3 separate regions of the Homo sapiens genome follow, and all the other regions are linked to region 1. The links are contacts of gene promoters, found by promoter capture Hi-C in human tissues and cell types (Jung and others, 2019). All regions are on one chromosome and are shown on one strand. Each heading gives the region's core, a stretch centred on a gene start or on the middle of the fragment in contact. The rest is flanking DNA. Distances are from core to core; before and after follow the strand shown. Region 1 holds the start of MAP3K1 (mitogen-activated protein kinase kinase kinase 1). Region 2 has its middle 58 kb from the start of IL6ST-DT. Region 3 overlaps ANKRD55 (ankyrin repeat domain 55).

Evidence for each region. Contacts are between HindIII fragments. The study calls those that stand out against the background at their distance.
Region 2: a contact is called between a fragment that was not itself captured here and the fragment with the promoter of MAP3K1 in region 1, in 1 of the 25 tissues and cell types used here (heart left ventricle).
Region 3: a fragment that was not itself captured here is called in contact with the fragment with the promoter of MAP3K1 in region 1 in 1 of the 25 tissues and cell types used here (dorsolateral prefrontal cortex).

What each region holds. Positions count from the first base shown.
Region 1 is chr5:56,812,973-56,818,070 of GRCh38, reverse strand. MAP3K1 (mitogen-activated protein kinase kinase kinase 1) reads right to left here and starts at 2,522. Exons shown (of 20, transcript NM_005921.2): 1 at 2,016-2,522. The coding sequence starts at 2,497. RefSeq lists silencers at 1,425-1,664, 1,845-1,964, 2,035-2,804 and enhancers at 890-1,713, 3,165-3,294. The HindIII fragment of the contact is 12,718 bases long and covers 1-5,098 here.
Region 2 is chr5:56,050,893-56,055,990 of GRCh38, reverse strand. No RefSeq gene overlaps it. Among named protein-coding and RNA genes, the nearest start is that of IL6ST-DT, 58 kb to the right of the region's middle. The HindIII fragment of the contact is 6,560 bases long and covers 1-5,098 here.
Region 3 is chr5:56,103,525-56,108,622 of GRCh38, reverse strand. The region is part of intron 10 of ANKRD55 (ankyrin repeat domain 55); the gene reads left to right. Among named protein-coding and RNA genes, the nearest start is that of IL6ST-DT, 110 kb to the right of the region's middle. The HindIII fragment of the contact is 3,018 bases long and covers 1,381-4,398 here.

The sequences.
Region 1 (5,098 bases), core at 1,273-3,772:
TTCTGACTCGTAAAAATAATTTCTTTAAAAAAGATTATCCTTACAAGCCCATTATTTTCTTATACTGTGCAATTATAATCTACACCTTAAGCAAAGGGGAAAAAACCTCGGTTACAAAACGCAAATACTAAGCATGGATTACTTAGTCCCTAAATTCTATCTGCCTCCACCTTAGTCCTCTTATTTTGTGTCAAGAGACAACATTAAACAATTTCAGTACATTATTTTTACAGTGGATGCTCTTCTACTATATTCACAGCTCATTAAGAGTACTAGAATGCTGACGTTTGCTAAATTATTTATTGTATCCAAAAAGTTAGGTCTCAATAGATACAATTTCTTAAATTTGGGGTTAAAAATTTTTATCTGGAATTCATTTAAAGTAGAAGTTGCCTTCAAAGAATTATTCCAGTTAAGTTTTAATACAATCTGCACAGAAATGGGAAAACTATAGAGGTACATAACTCTTGTAAGAATAAATTACATGTACAAGTGCACACAAAACTGTATCAGTCACAAATCTCCTTTGGTCTCAGTAGTGCCATGGTACAGTGCGAAGCATATTTTTTAGTTCTTGGGGAGAGGAAGGGGACTTCCAAATACTAAATGGATCGTGATTTTAAGCAAATAATCAAATGCACAAAAAATGCCAGATCACTTTAGATAATGAATCCAAACCAAGGACTCCTACTGTCAAATTCGTCTCACAAAATGACACGCTTTCTTCTCATAATAAAGGTCAGGGAATTCTACAGGGCCACGAGGGACTATCACAAAAACATTTCCAGCAACTCAAAATACCCATCAAGACTTTGTACTTTGCATACGTTAATCAGGTTTTTAAAAAACAAACAAACAAGGATGTAGCTGTCACACTTAAAAGAATTTCCTTTAACATAAAAATTTCCAGTAGCCAAAAATGGGCGAGGCCAATAAACCGCTGGTCTAAATTACCTTACACATACTGTACTTCATATGCACCAGAAGACGCATCTGAGCCGAAGCCCACCGCACTGCGGCCCCTGGAATTCAGCGGGCGGCCCGCGCCAGGGCACCGAGCAGGAAGCACTGCACCCGCGCCGCAGTCCCCGGGCCAAGCCGGAGGGGCTGCGGGGAGCAGTCACCACTGCTTTGAAACTGAATGGCTGACACATCCGGTCCTGGCTCTTACACCACTCCGCCAAATGCAAACTTCAAAGGCCAAATTCAAACTCCAAACAGAAGTCACTCAAGTGACTTAGCAGTGCAGTTCGCATTCCCAGGAACACTCAAAGCCCCTTGGGGGCTGCAATTAGACAAACCGCACTTCCTAAAAGACTGCAAGCCTCCGCGAGTGTGCAGCCTCCCGCCGCACGGCTTTGACAGGCGTTACCGAGCCGTCCTCCTGGAGCCCTGCGGCCGGCGCTGGGGGCGCGCCGCCTGCGTCCGGGCCCAGCCCGCGGTATCTGCCTAGGGACTCGAGTCCCGGGCGGGCCGAGGGGCTCTGCCTGTCACGGCCGCTGGGACCTGCTACTTTCTCTTCGGTCCTCTCAGTCTCCCACCCGACCTCGGGCTTCTCACCCACCCCGCCCCTCTTCCGACCACCGCCCGCCTCAGGCTCGGGCCTCGCCCCCCAGTGCCTTTGCCCCGGGGACACCCGTCCGGGGGCGCCGCCGCAGGGCCGTGCCCCGCCCCCGGGCTCCTCGGAGAGCCCCGATTCCAGGAGTCCCACAAAGCCAGCCGTGGCCCCCTACACCTTTTCGCAACGGTTCCCCGCAGAGAGGCTCGCACGCCTGTCACATGTCTGCAAACAATAACAAACTCTTCCGCACGTCCCCGTCCGGTCCCCCAGGCTGGGTCCGGGGCGCCGCCCGACTCCGAAGGGGTCGGGGGGTGCTCAGGGGCGTAGGTCCCGGCGAGCGGCGCGTAGCCTCGCTGCGCTGAACCCCGGGACGCCGTGCATGGTGCCCGGGGTTCATTCATTGCCCTCTGCCCGCTCTCCAAGTCCCCGCCGCGACCCCGGCCGTGCTGCTCACCCGGCGGGGGCCGCTGCAGGAGACGGCTCGGCGGCGGGCGCCCGCTTCTCCCCGGGCTCGGCCGCTGCGGGACTCGAGGCGCCGCTGTCCGGCGCCGCCACCGACTCGGTAAGGTGGGCGCCGCCGCGGCTCGCGGCTCCGTGGGGCGGCGGCACCGCCACAGGCTGGAAGCCGGTCCCACTCCCCGCTGCGTCCGCGGGCTCCGGCGACGGGGAAGTCGAGGAGGCCGGCGGTGAGGCGGCAAGGAAGAGCGGCTGCTCAGGCAGCTGGTCCAGCTCCACACTCCGCACTTTGCGCAGCTGCCGCCGCCGCCAGTCCGCCCGCTCGCGGCCCCCGCTGCCCGCCTCCCGCAGCAGTCCCGCGGCAGCCGCGGGCGCGCTGCTCGCCTTGAGGGCTCCTCCGCCGCCGCCTGCCTCAGGGCTCGTAGCCCTGGCGCCCGGGAATCCCGACGACGAGGCGCGATTCCCCGCCGCCGCCGCCATTTTCTCTCGCGGGCTACATTCGCTCGGCCCCTGCGAGGGAGGGAGGGGGCGGGGAGAGCGCAGGGGGCGGGCACTGCGCCGCCAGCGTAAGGCCTCCTGCGCCAACTGCGTGAGCGCGGCCCGCCGGGCGCCTGGCCTGGACTGACCGACGGGCGGGCGCACTGGGTCCGGCCTGCGGCAGAGGTGTGGGTGGAGGGCGGCCCGGCGGCCGCAGGTGGGAGGGAGTGGGCTGTGCTCTCCGCCGGGCGAGAGGGCGGGCGGGCGAGGTGGACTGGGAGGCGGAGGGGGCGGGGGCGGAGGCGGAGGCGTGGGCTCCCGGGACTCTGCGCGCTGCACGCGCCGCGCCGCCAGGTAGTCCCGGCCGCACCGGCGACAGGAGGAGCCTTGGCGGCAGCGCTGCGCCGCTTCCTCTCGGCAATCTCGGCCCGGCACCGCGGAGCTCGCGGGAGGGGAGTTGCACCTTCCGAAAGAAAGAATTAGTTCCAACTTGGGTTTCTGGTGCTTGAAGGGGACGCAGGCGAGAGGGTTTACAGTCTGTCATTCCCACTGCCCTTTGCAGTGGGCGTCGGGGGACCCGGGCGTGGACCAGCCTCCCACCGACGCGCAGGTGGCGCCCGGGACCGTCGCCTGCTGCAAAGCGAAAGCAAGTCAACGTTCAGCAGACAGGCTGCCGCGGACCAGAAAAATAAAGTTTTGTTTGTGTTTTCTTTTGAAAAGAAAACATTCCTTCTCTATTGTCCCACCCCTGTCCCTGTGCTACAGATAACAAAACTTCAAAGTTTTCTGTAATACCTTACATCCTGAAGCTGCTGATTTGGGACAACTACCCCCTACCCTCACCAAGTCCCCACAGCCTCTGAGAAACCGTTGGGGCGAGGAAGGGAGGCGGGTGTCCCCGTCGATCTTTAGTTTTTCCTTGGCTGTCTTTGGGAAAGGCAGTCCCGTACAGAACCACATATAGCGCGTTTGGGGAGGGGACCAGCGCTGTGCCAGGAAGTGCTCGGTAATGTCACCCTCGGCCAGGTCCCGGCCCTCCCCGAATCCGATGCTTCTCGCCGCACGTCCTTCTTCCCTGCAGGGTCGGGCCACCGGCCGGGTTCCCTCTGTCCCCACTCCTGCAGGGCCTGGCTGCCCATCGCTGCGTTGTGAGTCCTCCTAGTCCCTGGACTCTACGTGAGAAGGTGCTTTGGGATGGAAAAAGCAACATTTACACGTTAATGATTTTTGACCTTTTGTCAACTGAGGAGAACTTCTGTGTTGCGTTTATTTCTTCCTTCCTTTCCTTTCCTCCAGCTGGTTTGTTTAGGATGGGGAATCTCCCAAAACCCAGGAGGAACGTCTATAGATTTACTTTGTGAAACATGATTAAGGAGGGGGGAGGTTGGGGTGGGGGGGTGCGGATTCTCACGGAGATAGTCTTGTCAGTCTTCACATATTTAGACAAAAGCCTGAACTATTTACAGAATAATTCCATTGACTTCTGGAGACTAGGTAAAATGAAAGCCCCTTTCCCAGATACAATGTTAACTGCGTAACCAGGTTAGATCAGAGGGGTTTTAAAAAGTCCAGATTTCATATTAGCTCAATGATTTGAAAACTGCTGTAACATCTCCCATAAGATAGTTTTAGATCGTTACACCCAACGGTACAAATTTTGAAAGTTCAGATAAATCTGTTAAAAATTAAGTCTACATTTAGGCTATAATTATATGCTATTTTAATGGCAGTCAAATGTATCATTCAAACCAAACAGTGGTTATTTCTCAGGTCTTCCTGGGTTGCCACACCCACCAAATCCTAAACTGAAACGGATAAACTTTCCTTGTTCCTATTTTGATCTAAAGACTTTTACATTTGCACGCACATATTCAGGTACCTGTAAGTGAGAAAAGTAAGTGGAAGACTTTAGCCAGAGTAGCAGAGTAAAAAGGAGATTCCAGCAAAACTGATTTTTGACTGTTTGTACAGTGGTTGAAACTGGGGATCAAAGGGAGAGGGCTACCCAGCGCAGCACTATGAACTAGCTACAATTCTCTCACTTCCTCCATCCACCACGTATTACCATGGAGAAACCTAAGTGTTGGTATTTTCCCACAGTTTTTGTTGCTTTGAGTCATTTTTTTCTTTGTTTACGTAAATATTCAGGTTGTCATTATGCATCTGCATATGGACACACTGATTTCTTAAAGAGAGAATCAAAGGACATGCTTAACTGAAAAGGGTGTTCTCCCTCTGCCATATGTTAATAGAAGTTTCTGAGTCTAATGCGTGATTAAGACTCTAGCTGGTTTTGGTGCTCTTCAGTCCTGCTATGTTACTGCAGAGAGGTGGATGTCAAATATCAAGTACTGTAGGCTCTGAATTCTCTTAATATGATTTATTTAATAACATTCAGGAGACTTGTATTTCTTCCAAGGTTGTTTCTAGACTGAAAGCTCCAATTCCTGTTTCCAAGCTCTTCATTTCCATCCTCACTGGGACGTAAACCTTGCAATGATTTCACGCATGCAATTTCATGGCAATTTCATGACCATTTCAATAACCTTAATACCAGTGCATTACAGATCACTGCCTCCACATAGTGCTTCTGGAAACTGCCTA
Region 2 (5,098 bases), core at 1,786-4,285, 760 kb after region 1:
GCAGAGGCTGAAGGAAGACTAGAATGGAGAATGGATACACATAGAGAACAGGGGGTACTCTCTGACTCTGTGCCTCTGCTTTAGTCTTTAAAGACAAAGAAACTTCCAGAACCAAGGTATTGACTATCATCATCCTATGCTCTTTCTATATCACAACTCTGTCTCGTAAGGATGTCTGGCTAGTTTTTCTCATATCTGCAAGCCTGGCCATACTCTAACACGGTCAGGGTTATTAATATAAGGTCTTCTATGGTGTAACTTGTGCCAATGAATGAGATTGGATCTATTTCGATGCTGCAATAACCAGTTGTATATCTATTGGTAAATAGTAAAAACCCCAGAGAGATGCAAATTGATAGCCAGTCAATCCCAAGCACTCAAAATTATTCTGTAGACTGTCTCAACAGACTCTAGGACTAGTCTAGCCTTGCTAATCCTCTGGTAAGAAGGATCTCACCCACGCTACTCCACTCAGAGAAATTGGATCCAGACCTATGCTGAGCCCTCAGAGCTCTGGTTAGACCACAGCAGAGATGATGACCTCAGAACTCTGGGTCCATGTGAGCCAGGAGCAATCTCCAAGATAGCACAAAAGCTACAGGCTTACCTGCTAACTATCAACAATTTTTTAAGATTCCTCAAACTTTCTAAAGAGAATTCAGTTTGTTACAGATTCACAAGGAGAAGATTGGACCAAGACCCAGAGGCTGAGATCAGTATAGAGATCTTTTAAAATTAGCCGGGTGTAGTGGCGGGTGCCTATAATCCCAGCTACCTGGGAGGCTGAGACAGGAGAATCTCTTGAACCCAGGAGGCAGAGGTTACAATGAGCTGAGATTGCACCATTGCACTCCAGCCTGGGCAGCAAGAGCAAAACTTCATCTCAAAATAAATAAATAAATAAAGATCTTTTAACATAAAGTCCAGCCAGGTACAACCTTCCAAGATCAGATCTTCCAAATATCAGAATGACCTGGGAGCACATTTTTTTAGGTTTTTTAAAAATTGAGATAAAATGTATATGACATAAAATTAACCATTAACCATTTTAAAGCATACAATTCAGTGGCATTTAGTACATACACAATGTTGTGCAATCATTACCTCTAACTATTTCCAAGAAGTTTCACCACTCGCAAGGACATTCCTTACCCATTAAAAAATCACACTTGGGCTATGGCTCATGCCTGTAATCTCAGCATTTTGGGAGGCTGAGGCAGGCAAATCCCTTGAGGCCAGGAGTTCAAGACCAGCCTGGCCAACATGGCGAAACCCCATCTCTACTAAAAATACAAAAATTATCTGGGTGCAGTGGTGTACACCTGTAATCCCAGCTACTCGGGAGGCTGAGGCATAAGAATCACTTGAACCAGGGGGACAGAGGTTGCAGTGAGCCGAGATTGCACCACTACACTCCAGCCTGGGCAACAGAGCAAGACTCTGGTCTCCAAAAAACAAAGAAATTACACTAGAGGAGCATTTTTAAAGTATATATTCCAAGGCCCCATACTGAAGAAATTGCAAATCCATGGGAAGGGGAATATTTTTCAAAACTTCTCAGGTATCTCACTTTTAGGTATTTACCTAAGATAAGTGGAAACATGTTCCTACAATGAACTATATACATGAATAGTTATAATATTTTTATTCATAATCACCCAAACCTGGTAAAAACCCAAATGTCTCTCAGTTGAGTAACACACAGAGAAACAGTGATACATCTGTACAATGGAATAGTACTCAGCAATTAAAAAGAACACACATGCAACAGCAAGGATGACTCTCCAGTGTATTATACGCAGGGATACAACCCATTTTCCATACTGTATTCCATTTATATGACATGCTGGAAAATGCAAAACCATAGTGAAGGAGAACAGATTAGTGGTTTCCAGGATTGAAAGGCTGAGGCTGGGTTTTGAGCACAAAGGGGTATTTGAGCACAGGGCATTTCTGGAGGGGTGATGGACTGTTCTACCCCAAGTTGTGTCACTTGATTGTGGTGGTAGTGACAAGCATATGTCAAAACTCATAGAGCCCCCAAAAGTGTGAATTTTACTAGATTTAAATTTTACAAAGTTTTAGACCTCTCTGTTGGTTTCTGATGAGCAGCCTATTTGGGGAACTAGTTCATAGGACTGAGATGGGATCATTCCTTTGACCTTTTCACGGGACTTGCAAAGGGGTGGCTCACTTACTCAGCCTGCAGCACTCAAACTCCTTGCTGGAGGCAGACCACACAGGTAGGTGGGTGCAGGAGCCACAGTGAGTGTCTTTGGGCGCTGGTGGGAAGGAAACCCCTACCAGCCCGTGGCAGCATCTAGGGATTGCCCGTGACCCCTGGAGCCCCAGAGGGTGTGTGTTACAGTGTGTTCCTTTAGCTTTGCCATCTGTGAACAGCTTAAGCATTAACCAGCTTAGTGGAGGGTCAAGGTGACAGCCTTTTATACCCTGCCCTCTTAGTACCTAAGTTCTTGTCTGGCATCCAGGAAGAATCAGGTCACATAAACAGATTGAAGGGTAGTGTACAAGGAGGATTTTATTGAGTGGTGGAAGTGGCTCTCAGTGAGAAAGGGAGCTGGAAGGGGGATGGAGTGGGAAGATAATCTTCCCCTGGAGTTCGGCCATCCTCAGCCAAATTCTTCCCCAAAGTCCCACCCATCAAACCATCCCTCTGAAGTCAAACTGCTTTTCTCCGATGTCCAGCTGCTTCTTCTCTTCTCTCCTTCTCTGCCACTCTGCTCTGCTCCTCTGCCAGTGACCCTTGGGGTTTTTATGGGTACAGGATTGGGGGGTGTGGTGGGCCAGGGTGGTTTTGAAAAGGCAACGTTTGGGCAAGAAAACAGGAATGCATGCTCTCATTTAGGGCTGTGGGTCCAGGCTTGAGAGTAGAGCCCTTTCCAGGGACCCCATCCTTTTCTACCTAGTATTTCCCTGCCTCCTGTCCATATCAGGATGATGTTAGACAACCTAGTTATTCTTTAATCCATTCAAGTTACACTTTGGACACTCGGGACTCATTGACTTATCATTACTATTTATCTGGTCATTATCATAGCATTTGAATATTTTCCACAGAGTAGAGGTACAAAAGTAATCTGGCATGCTGACACAACACATATGGTATGTATTTGAGTATATGACAGACCACAGGGCATTGGCTACATAATGGTTTTGTTCTAGTGTTTGCCAAGCTGAAATCACCACACCATATGTAGTGACTTTAGAATTTTCTTTAAAATGAGTTATACTTTATCTCATCAAATTAATCTTGATCCATTGATATGAAAGTCATTCCCACTGATGTGATCAAAATACAATCTATGAATTTAGCACAAAACATGTTGAACAACTGAAACATGTTTAACAAAACATAATGTTTAGCAACTGATTTTTAAGATCAGTCCTGCTATAGTTTGAATATCTATCCTCTCCAAAGCTTGTGTTGTAATTTTTTTTTTTTTTTTTTTTTTTTTTTGAGACGGAGTTTCACTCTTATTGCCCAGGCTGGAGTGCAATCATGCAATCTCAGCTCACCACAACCTCTGCCTCCCGGGTTCAAGCGATTATCATGCCTCAGCCTCCCAAATAGCTGGGACTACAGGTGTGTGCCACCACGCCCAGCTAATTTTTTGTATTTTTAGTAGAGATGGGGTTTCACCAGGTTAGCCAGGATGGTCTCAATCTCCTGACCTCATGATCCACCCGACTTGGCCTCCCAAAGTGCTGGGATTACAGGTGTGAGCCACCACACCTGGCCTCGTGTTGTAATTTAATCCCCAATGTGACAGTATTGAGAGCTGAGGCCTTTAAGAGGTGCTTGGGTCAAGAGGGATTAATGGATTAATGGACTAATGGATCAACAAGTTTTCATGAGAGGGGACTGGTGGCTTTACAAGAAGAGGAAGAAGATGAGCTAGCATGCTCAGCCCCTGTACCACCTCAGGACTCTGCAGAGAGTCCCCATCAGCAAGAAGGCCCTCACCAGATTCAGCCTCTTGACTTTGGACTTGTCAGCCTCAGGCTTGACCTTCTTGCCAGCCTTATAAGAAATAAGTTCATGGCCGGGCGCGGTGGCTCACGCCTGTAATCCCAGCACTTTGGGAGGCCGAGGCGGGCGGATCACGAGGTCAGGAGATCGAGACCATCCCGGCTAAAACGGTGAAACCCCGTCTCTACTAAAAATACAAAAAATTAGCCGGGCGTAGTGGTGGGCGCCTGTAGTCCCAGCTACTTGGGAGGCTGAGGCAGGAGAATGGCGTGAACCCGGGAGGCGGAGCTTGCAGTGAGCCGAGATCCCGCCACTGCACTCCAGCCTGGGCGACAGAGCGAGACTCCGTCTCAAAAAAAAAAAAAGAAATAAGTTCATTTCTTATAATTGTAAAAAATAAATTCCTTTTTTTAAATCAACTACCCAGCTTCATGTATTCTGGTATAAGCAACAGAAAACAGACAAAGATAAACCCCAAATAAAAAACAAATAAACAAAAAAATCCAGAAGCTTTTATGTGATAAAGCTAATGATCCTAACCAACTCCAGTGAAGATCATTTTGGTTCTTTTCATAAAGTTCAATACCTATTTTATAGAAAAGAAAAGAGGTTAACTTAGACAAGATTCAAAGTGAGTAGATAGCATATTTTATAATAGACTCCTCATAGAATCATGGATCTCTTTGTGAAAATTTACAACTATGGAAAACATTAAAATAATGTGCAGATATTTATGTATATAACCAGCCTCACTGATTACCATCTAACTCGTGTTTAATCTCACTTAAAAAAAAAAAAGCATATCCTGCTGTGGCTGATCATCCACTCAAAACAACATGACTAAAATTCAAATAGAAACTCCCACATAAAATAAGAAGAAAAGAAACAAAAAGTAGGCAATGTTTAGATTGGAAGATAAAGATAATTTCAACTGTGGAACAAAGGAAACAAACAAAGATCTCTCCATGCCTTGAGGTAGATCCTATCTGATGTTTCTACCCCCTTAGGTATACTTTCTACTTTGCAATTCTCCTTGCTTGCTCTATTTTCAAACTATTTCTGTTAATATTATTGCTTTGCTTCCTCCTTACTTTGCAAACAATAGCT
Region 3 (5,098 bases), core at 1,640-4,139, 710 kb after region 1:
AGTAGAATATGGCTCCCTCACTCATATTTGTATACATATTTAGGCACAGGATAAATATGGATAAGCACATTAAGGCTGTTTCCTGATGTCTGAGAAAAACTCCAGTCAAGATTTTGCTTCCTCCACAAAGCACTGAAGCACTTGGCTGGTGGCATGGGTAGTGTTTGCATTTTTTTCTGCAGAAGGATCAGGAAGGGAACACAGTGGTCTGCCACCTTTTGACACTTCAGGGCCTCAACCCATCCTGTTTTCCAGAGTTAGGCCTGTCCCGGCCAAACGAATACCTTCTGTTATGAAAATCATGTGAAAATCTGAAAATCTTGTTCTTTTTCCGTTCCAAAGACAGCCTTGGCCTGTCTCTTTTACATCAGTTAGGATGGGGTTCAGCTTCCTGTAAAAGAAACCCAAAGTCACAGGGGCTTGAACAACATAGAAGTTTATTGCTATCACGGCCAGGTGCAGTGGCTCAGGCTTGTAATCCCAGCACTTTGAGAGGCCAAGGGAGGTGGATTGCTTGAGCTCAGGAGTTCAAGACCAGCCTGGGCAACGTGGTTAAGCTTCGTCTCTACAAAAAATACAAAAAAAATTAGCCAGGAGTAGTGGTACTTGCCTGTGGTCTCAGCTACTTGGGGGGCTGAGACGGGAGGATCACTTGAGCCTGGGAGGCAGAGGTTGCAGTGAGCCAAGATCGCACCACTGCACCCCAGACTTGGTGACAAAGTGAGGCCCTGTCTCAAAAAAAAAAAAAAAGTTTATTGCTATCACATGAAAGAAGTCTGAAGTAGGCAGTTCCCAGACATTTGGTGGCTCCACAATCATAAGCAACATAGGCTCTTTCCATCTATGTGCCCCGTCACCTAATGTATGGCTTCTCTCCTCGAGGGGCTGATGGAGCAGGAGGAAGGAAGTAGAGAGGGGGAAAAATGCGTGTCCCCATGTGAATCAGCTCCCATTAAGAACTCATCTGGCTTAAGTGCCACACTTCCGCTTGCATCTCATTGGCCTCTAAACTTTGGTCATATATTCACAGCTATCAACAAGGAGTCTTTTAGCTGGCCACGTTGCTATCCCTCCAAAATTGGATTTCTGTTTCTAAGTGAGGGAGGAGATATTAGATGGAGAGTTAGTACATTCTGACACATGTGCCACCCAAAAATTTCCATCTTATTTGAAATAAAAAGAAATTCAATAAACGTGGTTTGGGGATTTGCTCACTTACACAATGAAATAACTAGAAAAATCCTGGGACAGCAGAATAGCAGAAAGGGGAAGGTGAATTTCTCCAATGGAATCTGCCTATATCAAATATTTTTTTCAACCAATTTTTCTGAGTGCTGATTATAACTAGGAGCCATTCTAGGCAACTGAGTCATGATAAGATAAATTTCCCAAGTGTTTTCAGCCTATAAATCAGCTTTAAGGGGTATAGATTTACTAAAATGCTTCTGCAACTGACTTTAAATTGACTTTCTTCTCATGTTTAGATACAGTCATAGGGTTTCAAAAATGGAAAGGAGCTTAGTCATTTGATCAAACATTAAATGATTGCTGAGTGTTTATCACAGTTGATTTATCAAAAGAGAGTGAGGGATTTTTTTTTTTTTTTTTTTTTAGAGAGAGATAGGATCTGTCACCCAGGCTGGAGTACTGTGGCTTGATCATAGCTCACTTCAGCCTCAAACTCCTGGGCTTAAGCAATCCTCCCATCTCAACCTCCCATGTAACTGGAACTACAGACACATCTCCTCCTCTGGCTAATTTTTTTGTCATCATTTTTTTGTAGAGACAAGGGTCTCACTTTGTTACCCAGACTAGTCTAGAACCCCTGGCCTCAAGCAATCCTCCCATCTTGGCCTCCCAAAATGCTGGCATTATAGATATGAGCCACTAAGGCTGGGTGTGGTGGCTCATGCCTGTAATCCCAGCACTTTGGGAGGCCAAGGTAGGCGGATCACCTGAGGTCAGGAGTTCGAGACCAGCCTGGCCAACATAGTGAAACCCCATCTCTACTAAAAATACAAAAATACAAAAATTAGCCAGGTGTGGTGGCGGGCGCCTGTAGTCCCAGCTACTGTGGAGGCTGAGGTGGGAGAATCGCTTGAACTCAGGAGGCAGAGGTTGCAGTGAGCCGAGATCGCACCTGCACTCCAGCCTGGGCGACAGAGCAAGACTATGTCTCAAAAAAAAAAAAAAAAAAAAAAAGCTTTCCTAGCCTTACGGATTTTATTTTTGTGATCATTTTTAACAATAATTGTTTTGAGATCACTGAGGCTTCTGCACTACACTGAAGTGGGTGTTGTCGTTGTTGTTAGTCTAGGAGAGTTGAAACTTTATGTGAAAGTTTAATGTGGTAAAGCAGTTGGATAAATCATCCCACTATAGCACTGACTTGAACTTGGATTGTCCCTTTATCTTTGGATTTCCTCCTTTCCTGCCCTGGGTTTGGTAGAAATAATATGAGTTAGTAGTGCTGCTGTTAAAATTCCAGGCAGCCACTATCCAATGCTTACATCAGCAGCCCTGAACATTTAGCTGTAATGATTATTGCTTAACATTTATTGAGACCTGTCAGAGGTTGGATGCAGCAAGATGGGGGATGAAGCACTTATCCTAGAGACTTGGAATTTGGAGCACGTCAGCTTAATTCATTGCAGGCAGCTTTCAGAGAAAATGGAACAGAAAGCTCTGTGGTATTGTCTGCTAGCCTGGTTATTTATAAGCCGTCACAAGAAAAGTAAAAAAGTGTGCATTTCCTTTCTCCTGCAAAAGAGAGCTTCCTTCTCTAGAATTTTCTAGACTATCTCAGCCAACAATGCACTCTTCTGGCTGGTTAGGTCTGATCCTGTGATCCTTCTGTCTAAACCCATCAAACGTTTTGCATCTTTTCAGGACAAAGGCCAGGGTTCTAAACTGGGCAAACAAAGCCCTCACGGCATGGTCAGACCTCACGGCATGGTCATGCTCAGCTTCTGCACCGCCCATCTCAAATCCCCACCCCTACCTCTTCAGAAGTTCCTTGAATATGTCTCAGTTTCTTGACAATTTCATACCTTTCCATTCTATGACATCTTGGCCCTTGTTATTATTTTGGGTTCTCTCCACTGTGTGCTTGACCGATTCCTACAATCTTTTAAGAACCAGCTCAAAACTCACCTTCTATAATATGTGAAGGTCACCCTGATCTCTGTAGGAAATATGGCTCTTTCTTAGGACTGCTAATAAGAACAGCTCCACCTGGCCGGGCACGGTGGCTCACGCCTGTAATCCCAACACTTTGGGAGGCTGAGACGGGTGGATCACCTGAGGTCAGGAGTTCAAGATCAGCCTGGCCAACATGGTGAAACCCCATCTCTACTAAAAATACAAAAATTAGCCTGGTGTGGTGGCGCACGCCTGTAGTTCCAGCTACTCAGGAGGCTGAGGCAGGAGAATTGCTGGAACCCGGGAGGCAGAGGTTGCCGTGAGCCACGATGGCACTACTGCATTCCATCCTGAGAAACAGAGTGAGACACTGTCTCCAAAAAAAAAAAAAAAAAAGAATAGCTCCACCTTGCTGACCTACACACCTACACACTTCACTTTCCACAACATTGCAGGAGAGATTTTATCCTCTTTATAACTGAAGAAATTGAGACAGAGAGGTTAGCTCATCTGCCTAAGGTCACAGAGCTAGCTAGGAAGTGGCAGAGGAGATACTGGAACAAGGTCTATGGGATCCCAGAAAACCTCAACTTCTCTGGACCATTCCTTCCTCTGCAATGCCCTCACAAACTCTATCACAGCACTACTCATGGAGCTTCAAAACCATATGTTTACCTGTCTTTCCTCCCACATCAATTGCAATCCCCTCCTGAACGCCTTGCTTTCTCCTCTTTGTACTCTAGGGTCTGGAATATGATGAGTGCTCAATGGATGATTGCTGAATTATCTATTTATTATTGTTATTATCATTATTATTATTATTAATCCTGCAGTCACCTCGGGTTCCATCATGTAACTGTGAAAACATTTCCTATCCTTTTTTTCTAGGACAGTGGTCCTTGACCCTGTCCCCAAAGCTGAACACTCCCTGGAGTTGCCTGCAGCACCAGACAGCTTTGGGCTATGCACGGCTCCACCCTGTCCCTGAAAACTGAGCAAAATGCCAACATGGAATAAAGTTTAACTCCCCTTCATCTCCGAGTCACTGCTGTAGCCCTTCTTTGCCCACTGCTCCCATCTGCTTAGAGGAGGCAGAATAATAGAAGTTACAGGGTCAGCCCTATAGGGTTGAAGTCTAGGCTGTGTCCCTTCCTAGCGTGTGACTTGAGCACTTTTAGAACTCCTCCAAGTCACAAGGTCCTCATTTGTAAAATGAGGATGATAATAGAATGTATCTCACAAGAAAAAGTGATTGTCAGAGTTAAATAAGATTATGCCTACAGCATTTATCCCTATTCCTGACAAAAGTAAGTGTTCCATAAACATAACTCAAAATTATTATCTCGTTGGTTTTACAAATTTCTGCTCAAGTGTTCATGGATAAATAGTTGTTCGCTAATATAAATTTTCATGTTAATTCTACACAGGAATATTTTCTCTGTAAATAATGGCTCCTGAAGTTATTTGATGTTCAGTGTTCAAAAGGATAAAATATAATGGCAAAATATCCACCAGGGAGACTGGAGATTTAATCTCCATCAACTAACATTGCTGAGGTGGCCGCTTCTGCACAGACCATCCACCATGAGATTCACTTAAACAGATGCAAGTTGTTCTTGGCTAATCCTTTTGTTTTTTCTTTTTTTCTTATGCTATTTTGCTCCAACAGAAGACCCTTAAAGTCTAGGAGCATTGCTATAGCAATTCTGGTTCTTTCTTACTAGACTGATAGGCAAAAGATCAAATAATCTTTTTTTGTTAAGGTCTTTTGAGTACTTTACCCTATAAGCTAAATGCTTTACCCTTGTTCTCCAGTTTAATCCTCATGACAAGTGGAAAAGATATACAATTATTTTCACCATTTTGTATATGAAAAAATTGAGGTGTTGAGAGGTAATATCATTTGCCCAATGTCATATAACTGAAAAGTGGGGAAGCAGGGAATCAAGCCTAATTC